2 separate regions of the Homo sapiens genome follow, and region 1 is linked to region 2. Evidence: promoter capture Hi-C in human tissues and cell types (Jung and others, 2019). All regions are on one chromosome and are shown on one strand. The core of a region is centred on a gene start or on the middle of the fragment in contact, and the rest is flanking DNA. Distances in the headings are between cores, read along the strand shown. Region 1 holds the start of CR2 (complement C3d receptor 2). Region 2 overlaps LINC02942 (long intergenic non-protein coding RNA 2942).

What was found. Contacts are between HindIII fragments. The study calls those that stand out against the background at their distance.
Region 1: a contact is called between the fragment with the promoter of CR2 here and a fragment that was not itself captured in region 2, in 1 of the 25 tissues and cell types used here (H1 embryonic stem cells).

Annotation. Positions count from the first base shown.
Region 1 is chr1:207,451,805-207,458,873 of GRCh38, reverse strand. It overlaps CR2 (complement C3d receptor 2), which reads right to left and starts at 4,546. Exons shown (of 20, transcript NM_001006658.3): 1 at 4,398-4,546. The coding sequence starts at 4,455. RefSeq lists silencers at 3,988-4,097, 4,478-4,707. The HindIII fragment of the contact is 10,162 bases long and covers 1-7,069 here.
Region 2 is chr1:207,308,576-207,315,676 of GRCh38, reverse strand. LINC02942 (long intergenic non-protein coding RNA 2942) reads right to left here. Exons shown (of 4, transcript NR_186170.1): 4 at 1,496-7,101. All of the region lies in intron 1 of LOC107985251 (a long non-coding RNA gene), which reads left to right. Among named protein-coding and RNA genes, the nearest start is that of CD55, 9.6 kb to the left of the region's middle. The HindIII fragment of the contact is 6,321 bases long and covers 1-5,437 here.

The sequences.
Region 1 (7,069 bases), core at 3,297-5,796, 140 kb before region 2:
CAGAGACAAGGTTCCCACCCTCATAGAATTTATAATCCAACAGAAAGAGACAGACTGTAAATAGATACCAGGAAATAAATAAGAAGGTGCTGAACATGAAATATGAAATAGAGTGATATGTCACAATGTAATGCACTGGAAGGAGAAGGGACAGGGTGGCATGCAACTTCAGTTATGATGGTTAAGGAAGGCCTGTGAAAAGGCAACATTTAAGTTGTGACTGAAGGACAAGAAGGAAGAAGGAAGCAGCCAGGCAAATTGCTGGGTACAAGTATTTTAGGCAGAGGCCTAACAGGAGGAATGGATTTGGTATGCTCCAGGGACAGACAGAAGGCAAGTGTGGCTGGGATGCAATGAGCAAAGCAGAATGGTCCACGATCAAGTCAGAAAACTCAGCAGGAGGGATCATGAAGGGCTTTTTAGACCACAGATATGTGAATATTATCCTGAATAGAAGTCATTGGAGAGTTCAAGCAGGAGAATCACAAGGCCTGACTTACATTTTTAAAGGAATATTCTGGCAATTGGGTAGAGAGTGGATCGAACTGCTTACTTTTAGAAGCAAAGAGTACAGTTTAGGGCCAAAAAAAAAAAAATGAAGCTTGGCAAAGGATTGAGCAGTGGATATATTTTAGAAATAGAATTGGCAAGATTTTTTGTTGTTTTACATGTGGGGCTGAGGAAATGGGAGGATTCCTGACTTCTAGACTTCTGACTTGGGCTACACAATTGATAGAATTACCCTGTTCTGAGGATGGAAAGCCTGAAAAAGGAGTGTGTGTGTGTGTGTGTGTGTGTGTGTGTGTGTGTGTGTTGTGGCCTTGAGGTAGGGAATTGTGTTCAGAATCATTTCCATTCAGACTTGGTATATCTAACACACTAGGCATCCACATCAAGATGCCAAGTAGGCAGTTTGCAGCTCAGGAGAGAGGACAGAACTATAGATAATAAATATGAGTCATCAACATATAAATAGTATTCAAAGCCATGAGACAAGATGAGTTGAGGTTTTTTAGGAAGAAGAAATGAAGAAAGAAGAGGCTCAGGGCTGAGCCCCAAGACCCTCTAATATTTAGAGATAGAACAAAAAAGACTAAGAGACAACAGGGAAGTATGGAAAAAACAGGTAAGAGTGTCTTGGTTTGGAAGATGAGAATGATAATGGTTTCAAGGTAAAGGAAGTCATCAGTTTTTGCTGAAAGACTGAGAAAGATTAACATAGAAAAATGACCATTGGATTTATCAGCATAAGGGTCAGTAGCGACATTGCAAGAAACAGCTTCAGGAGACTGTGGGGAAGAAGCCTGTCTGAAGTGGAGAAGGAGATAACGAAATTTGAGTAAGTAGTCAATGAAAAGTTTTGCTGAGAAGAACAAGAAGAGGGACAGGAAAATGGAGTTCCAGTGGGTCATGAGAAGGTCCATAAAGGATTTCCTGGGGTATACTTAAATGCTGGTGGGGATGATCATACAGAAAGAGGTACATTGATGATGCAAGGTAGGAGATATCTGCAGAAGTAAAGTCCTTGCAAAGGCAAGAGGGTATGGAACATGATCATGAATACAGGAAAAGGAGCTGAATTTGTCAGCAGAATGGATACTTCTTTCATTGTTATAGGAGGAAACATACCAAGATTTCAATTCATATTTATTGAATTCCAAATTACAGGCTATTGATAGGAACTCAAATCAGGAAATAAGGCAGATTAAGGTCTTGCACTCATGGAACTTGTATTCCAGTGAGGGAACAAACAACAAACAGGTACATAAATAAGGAAGAAGGTTTTAGATGGTGATAGGTGGTCTGTAGAAAATAGAACACAGTTTTGTATTGGAGAGTACCCTGGAATATGGATACTTCAGACAAGAGTCAGAGAAGCACAACAGAGGGCTGAGCCTTGAATGTCAAGGAGACAGGCAAAGAATAATTTGTAGGAAGAGCATTTCAAAAGAGAGAATACCTAGTGCAATTGTGCTCAAAGAATAAAGAGAAGGCCAGTGTGGCTGGGGCAGAGAGAGTGAGTGGGGTACAGAGAATTTCAGGGAGAGGCAGAAGGCCTCAGACTGGAGAATAAGGGGTATGGGTTTTATTCTAATGTGACGGGAAGGCCTCAGCAGGTTTTCTGCAGTGGAGAACAAAATCTGATTCTAGATGGAGGTAAGTTTGTAAGTTGGTAGGTTTGTAGCCGATTAGAAAATGGGAGCATTCTTGTTTCATGGTTTTGTTTTCTCAGCATAGGATAAAGTTAGGTGGCCACTGAAGGCTTGAGTAAAATCTAGAAGTGTAGGAAATTTGAAACTGTTTATGCAAATAGACAAAAGGAAAAATAGGAAAACACTAAAAAGGAAATTTGCTTCCATTGACTTTGCTTATAGCAGTGTGCCCTATAGATACTTGTTGCAGAATCTTCTAGAGTGATTGTTAAACCTCAGCTTTCCTGTGCTAACTCCAAACCTATGAACCTCTGGAGGGGGAGGTGGAACCAGGAACCTACATTTTATAAAGGTACTTTAGTATTTTATTAAGCACACTCAAGTGCAGGAACTGGCCAAGAGATGATGTGTGGAGAGCATGCAGTAGCAGTAAAAGTTAGCAGTGGAGAGTGGGCAAAGCATGAGCCATGGGAGACAGGTGGGGAAGACCATGAGCAGCGCATACAAGACAGGCAGCTGGAGAAATCAGGGGGTGTGAGCTTCGGTGAGATCCCATTCCAAAGGGCTAGAAAGGCTGAAGACACCAGATTTTCTTCCACTGGAGGCCTTTTAGATTTTTGAACAATGGAGTGAAATAATGAAAATATATATATTTCTTAATTTTTTGTTTTCATAATTGGAAAGTGACCTATAGGTCACTCTTTAACCTTTCCAATCATAAGAACCAAAATCTCTTAAAAGAGATGAGGTTGTTACACAGGTAATTATAATGCTTAGGATGGGAATACTGGTACAAAAATGAGAAATGGACAAACAACAGAAGCACAGTAGCTTGAATGGCTGATAGGTAGACCTGGTATTTCATGGGGCTCCAGTTAAGTGACCTACATGATGCTGCTGCTGTGGCCCTGAATTGGCAGGACTGGTGAAGAATTTGATTTTCAGTTGATAATATCCTCTTTGAAATTTAGAAATAGGTGAGAAGTCAGGGACGTACTCTGCTCTTAGAAAAAGTGTGAATATACATTTGTTCAAAGGGAGTTAATATGCAGAAAAAGAAAAGAGATGAAGATAATGGTCTGGAGAAAGGTTTAAGGGTCAGGAGACAGTAAAATGTCAGGAAAGCAAAAAGTTGTAATAAACTAATATGTGCTGTATTCCAGACACCTCAATAAGCTGGATGTCCATAGAAACAATTGGACACCCAGCTTGTTAGCTTAAATGCTGGCTCCATAAAATCAAGTCTGTACAGGAGGCTTATTACTGATATTTAGTAGTAACGACTAACATCCAACTTTCTTTGCTTAGTTTCATCTGTGCTCAGGGCAGCTCAGTGAGGTGGAAGGCCAGTTAATCACTAGTTTCATTTTACAGATGAAGAAACTGAAGATCAGGGAGCTAAATGACTTGCCAAAAGTCACCCAGTTATTGAGGTCTGCACACAGTAAACGTCTTATAAACTAGGAATGCACGGTACCGTGGAGATAATTAGAAACTTAGACCCATCCTGTAGCCAAGAGACGCTAATCTTAATTATAATCTTTCTTTAAAATCAAGCCAATCTGGAGGAAAAAAAGATATAATAAACGGTGAATGAGACCTTTGCGGACGTCCACACCATTACAGTAGGTTAATAACAAGAAGAAAACAATAGTTTTAATCCATGTCTCAAAAATAACTACGGATGGTTAATGTTTAGGATCTCTACCAATATCACATTAGAGTTCAGAAAATCTGAGACCCATGCTTGGGAACCAGGTCTTACTCTTATTTAGGGAAGGGAGCCGAGGTTCTGCCGCTTTTGCTGGGCAAGAGCGCGGTTCGGGTGTACAGAAACAGCCTCACGTGGCTAGCTGGTGCCTCATGCAGTGGGTAGGTTTCCCGTGGCGAGCGGTAGCGCTGACCGCCGGCCAGAGAGCGATGAGCACCTGCAGAATCCTGGGGGCGGGGAGCCCGGCAGGAGACCGCGAGCACCCGCACGCCGCCAGCCACACCGGGCCGACCAGACAGCGCCCCTCTGTGGCGCAGCCTCCAATTCTGGAGGTCCCAGCTCCCGGAGGGGCCAGTGGGGACAATCAGGACCAGGCGGTTTATTGCAGTGGTCCCTCAAAGCTAGCGGGAGGCGGACACGCGTCGAGCACTGCCCCCACCGTCTCGCTTTTGGCCCCCTGCTTTGCATCGCGGCACAGAAACTTTCCCTGCCCGGGACGCGTCCCCACCTCCGTGCTCCCCCTCCCAGCTCACCGAGGACCCCCGGTGCGACGAGAGCCAAGAAAACCCCGAGCAGGCCCGCGGCGCCCATGCCACGGCCGAAGCCCCCGCGGCGGGATGCGTTCCGAGACCCGCGAGCGTCCGGCAGCTCTGGGAGGGCAAGGCTGGAGCAGCAAGCAGCTGTGAGCCAGGAGAGGCGGGCCCTTAAATAGTGTCCGGCACACGTGCTAGTTCTGAGCGCACACCTGCAGGCGGCCTGGGGGCTGACGCGGCGCCGGTGAGGGTGGGACAAGCGGGAGGGACGGCCCGGCACGAGGTGGGCGGGGAGCTCTGAGCCACTCTTTGGCTCAGACTCACCCCTCGTTGCGGTGGCTTCCCCACTTTTTTGACCACGCAACCCACTACACTCACTTGTTTCTCTTACTAGAACTTAAACAAAACTTTCACAAGTTAGTACTCACCCTTAGTAATCTACAATGTTCGTCCTCTGTGCCATGCTGTGTTATGCTAGACTAGGCTAGGCTATCCTATTCTTATTAGAAATCCACCAAACTCATTTCAAAACCTATTAGTGGATTCATCTCCCAGTTTGAAAAAGCAGTGTAAGTTTACTTAGGGAATTTAGGAACAGCAGCCACTTCTGCTCTGTTCTTTATTTTGAAGTAATCTCTACAGAAAAGTTTCAAGAGTACTGCAGAGAATTCCCATATACTTGTCACCCAGATTCTCTGCATGTTAACATTTTGCTGTATTTTCTTTACCATTCTCTATTCTTTCTCTATAGACATATATGTACATATATGTGATTATATAATTATAATTATATAATTATTACTTTGGAACCATCTAGCATTTATTCCTATTCTAAATGGTTCACTAAGGACTTTCTGTTCCATAACTAGAGTGCAATGATCAAAAATAAGAACTTAACATTGACACAAGACTATAAGCTACCATCTGTATTTAAATTTTGACAATCATCTCAATAACCTGTGTTATGGTAAAAACAATAACAACAATAGAAACCAACCTTTGTTTTTCCTGGTCCAGAATCATTTCAGGATCATGTATTGTGTTTGATCATTATGCCTTCCCCCCACCCCCAGTTCTTTATTCTGGAAAAATGTCCTCAGCATTTTTGGTATTGCATGACCTTTACATTTTTGACGAATACACCACAATTATTTTTGGAGAATGACTTTTAAGTCCGTTATCTATTATAATAACAAATTACCCTGAAGGTAGTGGTGTAAAGCAAGAATAAACATTTATGATCTCACAGTTTCTGTGGGTCGGTCAGGTGGTTCTGGCTTGGGATCGCTCAGGAGATTGCAGTTAAGACACCAGCTGGAGGTGCAGTCATCTGAAGGGTTAACTGGGATAGGCGAATCCACATCTAAGATGGCTCACTTACCAGCCTTTGGCTGGAAGCTTCATTCTTCACCACGTGGATTTTGCCATAGGGCTCGCTGCTTGTGTGTTGAGTGTCCTCGTGACATGCCAGCTAGCGTCTCTGAGAACAAGAAAGAAGAAGCCATAATGTCCTTTGTGACCTGTCCTCAGAAATCACAATATGTTAACTCCAGAATATCCAATTGATTGTACAGATCAGCCCTTTTCAGTGTAGGAGGGCAGTATACGTGGATGGTAATGTCAGGAGACAGGATCACACCCCACAATTTGGATTTGTCTATCATTTCTTCATGATAGATTCAGGTTATTGAATCTAATTATTTGACAGGAATACCAGAAAGGATGTCTTATCCTTACGGGGAGGCATATGTTGTCTATTTGTCCTATTACTGGTGGTGGTAACTTTGATCACTTAGTTAAGATGGTGCCTGCCATGTTTCTTAGTGTAGACTCAGTATTTTTCCCTTTGTAATTAATAAGTATTTTATAGGGAGATACTTTAAAACTATGTAAATTCCTCATTTTTTCATCAAATTTTTACCCACAAATTTTAGCGTCTATTGATGATCCTTTCTTGAATCAATTTTTACTATGATGGTTGTCAAAGGGTGTTTTTTCCTAATTTAATAATTACTTCTATATTCATCTGTTGGCATTTTACTGTAAATAAAAGTTTTCCCTTCTCTATTTATTTATTCATTTATCTATATCAGCATAAACTATATCAATATGAATTTTATTTATTTACTCAATGGGTCATAATTCATGGCTACCATTATTTATTTTGATGCTTAAATTCTCCCTGATCGGGCCAGTGGGAGCCCTCAAAATAGTTCCTATGTCATTTTGACTTGTTCTTATTGTTCTTTGAGCACTTCCTTACTTTCTGGCACACACACAAAAAAAAATGCTCCAGACTCACCTCTAGACCTGACACTGGAATTTGCTGTTTCTCCAAGGAATGCTGGTTCTTTCTGGCAGAGAATGGCATTTAGATGCCAGAATTGGATGCTAAGTGTGTTCATTTTTATTGGAGTATCATTGTTTCCGCACCCTCTCAGCAGACAGAGCAAGGATATGTATTATATATATATATGTATATCCATTCCCATATCTATATTTATATATGTCATGAATTCACAGTGATTCTTCCAATTTCAGTCCGTTAGCATAGAGTTCATTCTGTCCTTCCCTCTTTCTGCATGTGTAACTCCCTTCTTCAACAGTGAGACACCTAGATCCACAATATATTTACTTATTTGCTTAATCCTAGAATACACAGAAAGAAGTTT
Region 2 (7,101 bases), core at 1,028-3,527:
GTGTGCATGTGTGTGTGTATGAAAGTCTGAGCATGTGTGTGCATGTATGAATGAGTGTGCATGTGTGTGCATGTATGAATGTGTGTGAGCATGTGAGTGTGTGTATGAAAGCCTGTGTGAGCATGTGTGTGCATGTATATGAATGTGTATGAGCATGTGAGAGTGTATGTGCGTGTATGAATGTGAGCATGTGAGAGTGTGTGTGCATGTGAGAGTGTGGTCCAGCACCCAACCGCTCTGAAACACAAATTTCCCACTTATAAAACAGGTGTAATGATATTACCTCATAGAGGTTTTGTGAGGAATAAAGGAAATAATGTATGTAAAGCATTTGGCCCATTGCTTGGCACACAGTACTCTATAAATATTAACAATAATGAATGATCATGGGTGATGACATGAATGAATGTTTCCTATAACAAGACTTGGCCACTTTTCATGAAATCTATAAATACAGCCATGTCATGACATACAGTTTTAAAATTCTGTAAAAGCAATATGAAATTCTCATGTATTAGCAATGTGGAGATCATTTAGTTGTTTTCCTTATTCTTTCCCCACTCAGTAGTATTTTTCCTTTAGCAAAGATTAGGTCATTTACCAAGATTCAGAATTGTATAAACATTGGATTCTTTACCTCCAATGTAGTCCCATCTGCAGTTTGTTTCCCTTGATTTAACAGCTTGCAAGTTAAGCAGATTTACAATTTAAGCTTACTAGAATTGCACAAGGGTAAGGAGGGAAGAAAGAAGAAATTTACATTGAAGGGATCACCTTCCATTGATACTCTCACTTTGAGACTTAACCTTGGTTAACCATCCAGCAGTGCCATGAGTAAACTATTATTACTTACAATTGCACATGTTGGGACAGGTTCAGAGGGGGAAATGATTGGATAAAACAATACAGATGGCAAAGCCAAGCAAAATTTGAACCCAGTTCTGGGGAGATTTAAAATTATGCTCCGTCCACTCTACGTGTTACCTTTTATTTGTTGGTGCATAATGAAGACTAAAGCGTTCCTCGATCTTTCTCAAAGTGTTCATCGGTGAGTATTTTCCTAGCACTGTTCTTTCAGATGTCAAATAAAATCCATTTACCTATATGATGATCATTTCTCTAGGATAAATAGTACTTTCTCATATAGCCAAATGTTCTGCTATGAAGAAGGTAATTTACTTCAGACAAACAATAATTGCAGGTTTTGTTGAAAACACTTCTGTTTTCTCAAGTCCCCCATCTGATACCACCTCCTCTACTACTTCTGTGACATCCTTTCCCCCTCATGTTTCCAGACCATGTGGCCTCATTTTGATGTCATTTAGTCCATTAGCCCAAAGGTCTATAATAATTATGTCAGGGTTTGTTTGTGTGTGTGTCAGGTTTGCATGGAAAAGAACCAATTTAGAAACTTCTTACATAACAGAGACTTACCATATGACCTTATATTTCCAAGTATGGACCCAGGAAAAATAAAAATGTCTACAAAGATTTGTACATAAATGTTTATAGAAGCTTTATTTATAACAGCTACAAGCTGGAAACAATTCATAAGTAGCTGAATGGTTAAACAAATTGTGGCACTTCCATACAATGAATACTACTTCACATTAAAAAGGAACAAATTAATGATACACACAATAGGGATGAATTTCAAAAACTTGCTGAGCAGAGGAAACTAGGCACATAGAGTGGATATTATATGATTTCATTTATATGAAGTTCCAGAACAAGCAAAATCAACTTATGATGATAGAAATCAAAGTAATGACTATCGGGAGTGGGGAGTGCAAGAGGGTAGGAGAATTTACTGCAAAATGGCAAAAGGGAACTTTTGGGGGAAAATGTTCTATATATTTATTGGGGTAGTGGTTACATGGTGTATACATTTGTCAAGACTCGTGAAACTGGATAATTTGAATGTTTCCATTTGTTTTATGTAAATTATACCTCAATGAAGTTGATTAAAAATCATAAAATGGAATCAAAGGTCTCAGATGTGGAGTTGGTGGGCTTTGGCAACAGTGAATCAACTGGGTTATGTGTCAAGAATAGCACAACCAAATACACCTTTTCTCGTTTTGCCCCCTAATTTTGTCAATCAGTTTGAAGTAGTGTTAACCATGGATGTGAAATAATTTGAGCCCATAAAGAACAATATCAATGGGCTTTGCTGACTTGCAAAACACTGAGTTGTTATATATATGAGAAAATTGGCAAAATCACAAAACAATTATAAGCATATTGCATTAATCATTTGATGTGGATAGTGTAACCTTGGTTGTTTACTATATTCTGAGAGACACAGTGTTGAATCAGAATGCTCACCAATTAACAAGCCATCCACAGGAACTTCTGATGCAATTTCCCATGAAAGGAGAACCAAGGAGATTCTTTTCTCCATACTGTTTGATCCCAGCCTGTTCTCACTGCTCCATCTGAAGAGCTAGTGATAGGTTCTCAGAGCTAATGAGGTAATTTTATGGATCTTTTCCACATCACCTCTCACCTGCTCAATGAATCCCCACTAAATCTTGTGCCAGGATAATGTGGCAGACAGAAATAATGACAGCAACAATTTAGATGAATGTAGGACTTATCATCTCTGGGGAGTTTTTCACTAATATCTCACTTAATTCTCAGATCCACTCTGTGAGATAGGTGTTATTATTAACCTCTAAATGAATTTCAGTGATTCTCTAACAAGTCCAAAGTCATACACCTAATAATAATCAGGGTAAAGCATGAACCCACATCATCAACTGCAGGTTTTGTGCTTGGCCCATCACACCACCCACACTTCACAATAAACTACAAAATAAAAAGCAGATCCCTGCAAGCACCATATTTTAAAGGGTGTTGTGTATTTGGTCTGCTCACTCCAAGCACCGGATTTTTACTTTGTCAGTGGGTAATGTAATTGCCCAACAGATTCTTCTTGCCCACTGTCCAGATGGAACTGATTTATCCAGATGGGAATTACAGTAGACAAAGTTTAATACATGTAGAGCTGGCTAAATTGGAGACTGGAGTTTTATTGTTACTCAAATCAGCCTCCCCAAAAAGTCAGAGGCTAGGATTTTTGTAAGACAGTTTGGCGGGTAGGGAGCTAGGGAATGGGGAATGGTGATAAATTGGGTCAGGGATGGAATCACAGGGAGTCCAAGCTGTCCTCTTGCATTAAGTCAGTTCCTGGGTGGGGGCCACAAAACCAGATGAGCCAGTTTACCAGTCTGGGTGGCACCAGCTGGTCTATCAGAATGCAGGGTCTGAAAAATGCTTCGAACACCAATCTTAGGTTTTACAACAGTAATGTTATCTATCAGAGCAATTGAGCTTAGGAATCTTGTGATCTCTGGTTGCATGACTCCATAATTCCTAATCTTGTGGGTAATTTTGTTAGTTTTACAAAGGCAATCTGGTCCCCAAACAAGGAGGGGATTTGTTTTGGGGAAGGCTGTTATCATCTTTGTTTCAAAGTTAAACCATGAGCTAAATTCCTCTCAAAGTTAGTTCAGCCTGTACCCGGGAATGAACAAGGACAGCTTGGAGGTTAGAACCAAGATGGAGTTGGTTAGGTCAGATTTCCTTTACTGTCATAATTTTCCTATGTCATATTTTTCTCACTGTCATAATTTTTGCAAAGGTGATTTCAGTAATATAACTGGCTCAGATATATCTTTGTAATAATGTCTACAGATTCCATTAATTCAGAAATTTAAAAGAATAAGGTGCATTAAGAGAATAATTATACCCATGCTTCAGAATTTTACCAGTTAAGTTAAAATACATGTAAATAAATTTAAATGCAATATAAAATACATTCAAGTGTAGATGTAACGATAATGTCATTCTGCGGCCAGGTGCGATGGCTCATGCCTGTAATCCCAGCACTTTGGGAGGCTGAGGAGGGCAGATCATGAGGTCAGGAGTTCGAGACCAGCCTGGCCAATATGGTAAAACCCCGTCTCTACTAAAAATACAAAAATTAGCTGGGCATGGTAGCGGGCGCCTGTAGTCCCAGCTACTCAGGAGGCTGAGGCAGGAGAATCGCTTGAACCTGGGAGGCAGAGGTTTCCGTGAGTCGAGATTACACCACTGCACTCCAGCCTGGGTGACAGAGTGAGACTCTGGCTGGAAAATTAATAAAAACTATAATGTCATTCTGATGTTAATTACTAAACACTTGTTATGCCTGCTTAGATATTTTCTGCACTATAGTTACTTCCCATATATCATTATCAGTTGTCCTTCAGGGACAGTGTGGTTAAAAATAATCACTCTGGTGACTCACTAAGGTTTTGCAATTTAACCATTTCATGCCCTCTTAAATAGAAGTTATGTTTAAACTGTTTACTTCTTTCATTCTCCATTGTTTTTCTTAAGATTTTTAGCTGGAAAACCGGCCTGAGGAGGTAATCCACAATACAGAAAATTGATTTTGAGCAAAGAGATATTAGGCTTATATAAACAGAGATTTAGAATGTGCTTAAATATCCAACTACACAGGAATGGTTAAAAACCTTTTAGTACATATATACACATTATTAAGTATTATGCAATTATTAGTTATGTATACAAATAAATTTGTAATGGAATATGAAATGTTTTATTAAAATGTTTAAGCAAGGCCAGGTGTGGTGGCCCACGCCTGTAATCCCAGCACTTTGGGAGGCCGAGGTGGGCAGATCACAAGGTCAGGAGATCGAGACCATCCTGGATAACACGGTGAAACCCCGTGTCTACTAAAAATACAAAAAAATTAGCTGGGTGTTGTGGCGGGTGCCTGTAGTCCCAGCTACTCAGGAGGCTGAGGCAGGAGAATAGCATGAACCTGCGAGGCGGAGTTTTCAGTGAGCCAAGATCGGGCCACTGCACTCCAGCCTGGGCGATAGAGTGAGACCCCATCTCAAAAAAAAAAAAAAAAAAAGTTTAAGCAAGAAGAAAATTCAATTGTAACTGTGTATTAACATGGAAACAAAGTTATTCAAAGAAAAGACTGAAAAATGTTTTATTAAAATGTTTAAGCAAGAAGAAAATTATATCTTCTATATATAATATGATAATCAATTGTAACTTTGTATTAACATGGAAACAAAGTTATTCATAGAAAAGACTGAAAAAAAATAACCAAACTAAGGGTATGTGAATAAGTTTGCTGATTTTTTTCTTTGTATATTTTTTCCATATTGAGCATGCTTTATTGTTACATCTAGAAAGCTTTACTTTCATTTTAAAAGAAATCCTGCCAGCCAATTCATAATCATAATAGTTAAGTATTTGATTATGCTATGTTGTAACTTATTGAAACCTAGAAACTCATTTTTTCAAAGCAGATACTCTTACTTGAACTTTTTGAAATTTAATTCCCTTTTAATTATATCTAGCCTTTGTAGTTTGAAAAACTTTTCTCCTTGGTAGAAAGATAAAATGCAAATTGTTTCTGTAAGTCCTTGTGGGACTTCTCATCCAGGATCCAGCCAATTCCACTCTCACTTACCCCAGGCTAGTTTGAGATTTTGATAAATCTTATCCAGACTGCCACAATAAGCCGTTACTTGTTCTCTTCCTGTCAGCTGATTACATGTACAATGTCCAGATTAAGTGCACATGCTCAGCAATCACTTCCCGTTTTCACAAAATAAAGTCCAAGCTTCTTAGTCTGCTTTCAAGGCCATTTATAATTTGTTATTAGGCCTTTCCTGCTTTGATCTCACAGGTTTTATTTGTGGATGAACAAAATGTGCTATGCTCTAGTCAAATTACCTTCCTCGCTGATCCCTGGCATGCTATGGTTACCACCTCTGCGTGTTGATTCACTTACAAGGAATGCCCTCCCCAGCCAGCTGGTCCAATTAAATGCTTCCTTGGCTATCAGTCTGAAGGGTTTGCACTCTCTTCTGATCTCCTAGTGTAATACAGCAATTTCCCCTAAAGTATGCTTGCATTAGTTTGTGACATCTCTTCCAGTATTATGTTGAACTCCTCCTTAAATCATATAAGGTTGTTTAGCTCTGTTTCTTCTTCCCCTCAATTAGATTATAAAGCAATCTGAGACTCCCTCGCCTTCTGCTTGGACTGGAATCCTACCTCCCTCTCTTATGAGCTCCATGACCTGGACAAGTTACTTCATTTTAGTGTGCCTCAGTTTCCTCATTTATATAATAAAATGGAGATAATAATGTCTATCTCATAGAATTAAAAGAGATAATATGTAAAGAACTTGGGACAGTGCCTACTGTACATATAACACCAATTAAATATTAACTGCCATAACTTATTAGAAGGTATTTTAATGTAAGGATTATGTTTCATATTTCTTTATATCTTCCACAACAGTTGGAAAATTTTACTAGGGACTGATGAGTAAAGATTTATATATTTGTTGACTGTTTTATTAACAAGATTAACTTTTGTTAATAAGACTATCCCAAGCAGGCAAATCTTGGGGACTTTATTAATACTCTATGATGTATCAACATTGTATTATGTGCTGTGCATACATTCTTTTACTAAGCATTCACAATAATTCTTTTCCCACATGGCTTTTATATGTGGTTTTAAAAATTTAACTTTAGACTATGTATGCATATGCATGTGTACAGGCAATTTAAAAAGCCAAATAGTACTTTAAGGAAATGAAACAGTAGTTCCCCAACCCAACATCCCTCCAAAAAGTAGAAATATTCAGTAGGTATTATCTGTTGACTTCCTGTTATGAAGATTTTAATTTAACTCTCTTAACACTCCCACATCCTTCCAGCATAATTAATTGCAGTTTGAAATTAACATTGTATTTATTGTATTGGTACTATGTAAAAATTGTTAACAAGTTAGCATGTAGTGTATTATTAATTTCCTTTTTTGTACCAAATTCTTTATACTTTTAGTTGGTAATTGCCTGATTTTGTTGTTTTCTCATTTTTTTAATGTACCTTTTGCTAACTTTGCACAGAACCATATACTTCCTTGAAACATGGTCAAAAACTTTAGACAAACTGTGAGTTCCACTTTTTTCCTTCTTCTTTTCAGAGTACAAACCTCTTGTAGTTCTTCATTGTCATTCACCAGTCTGGACTTTCTGTTACATCATCCTGAGAA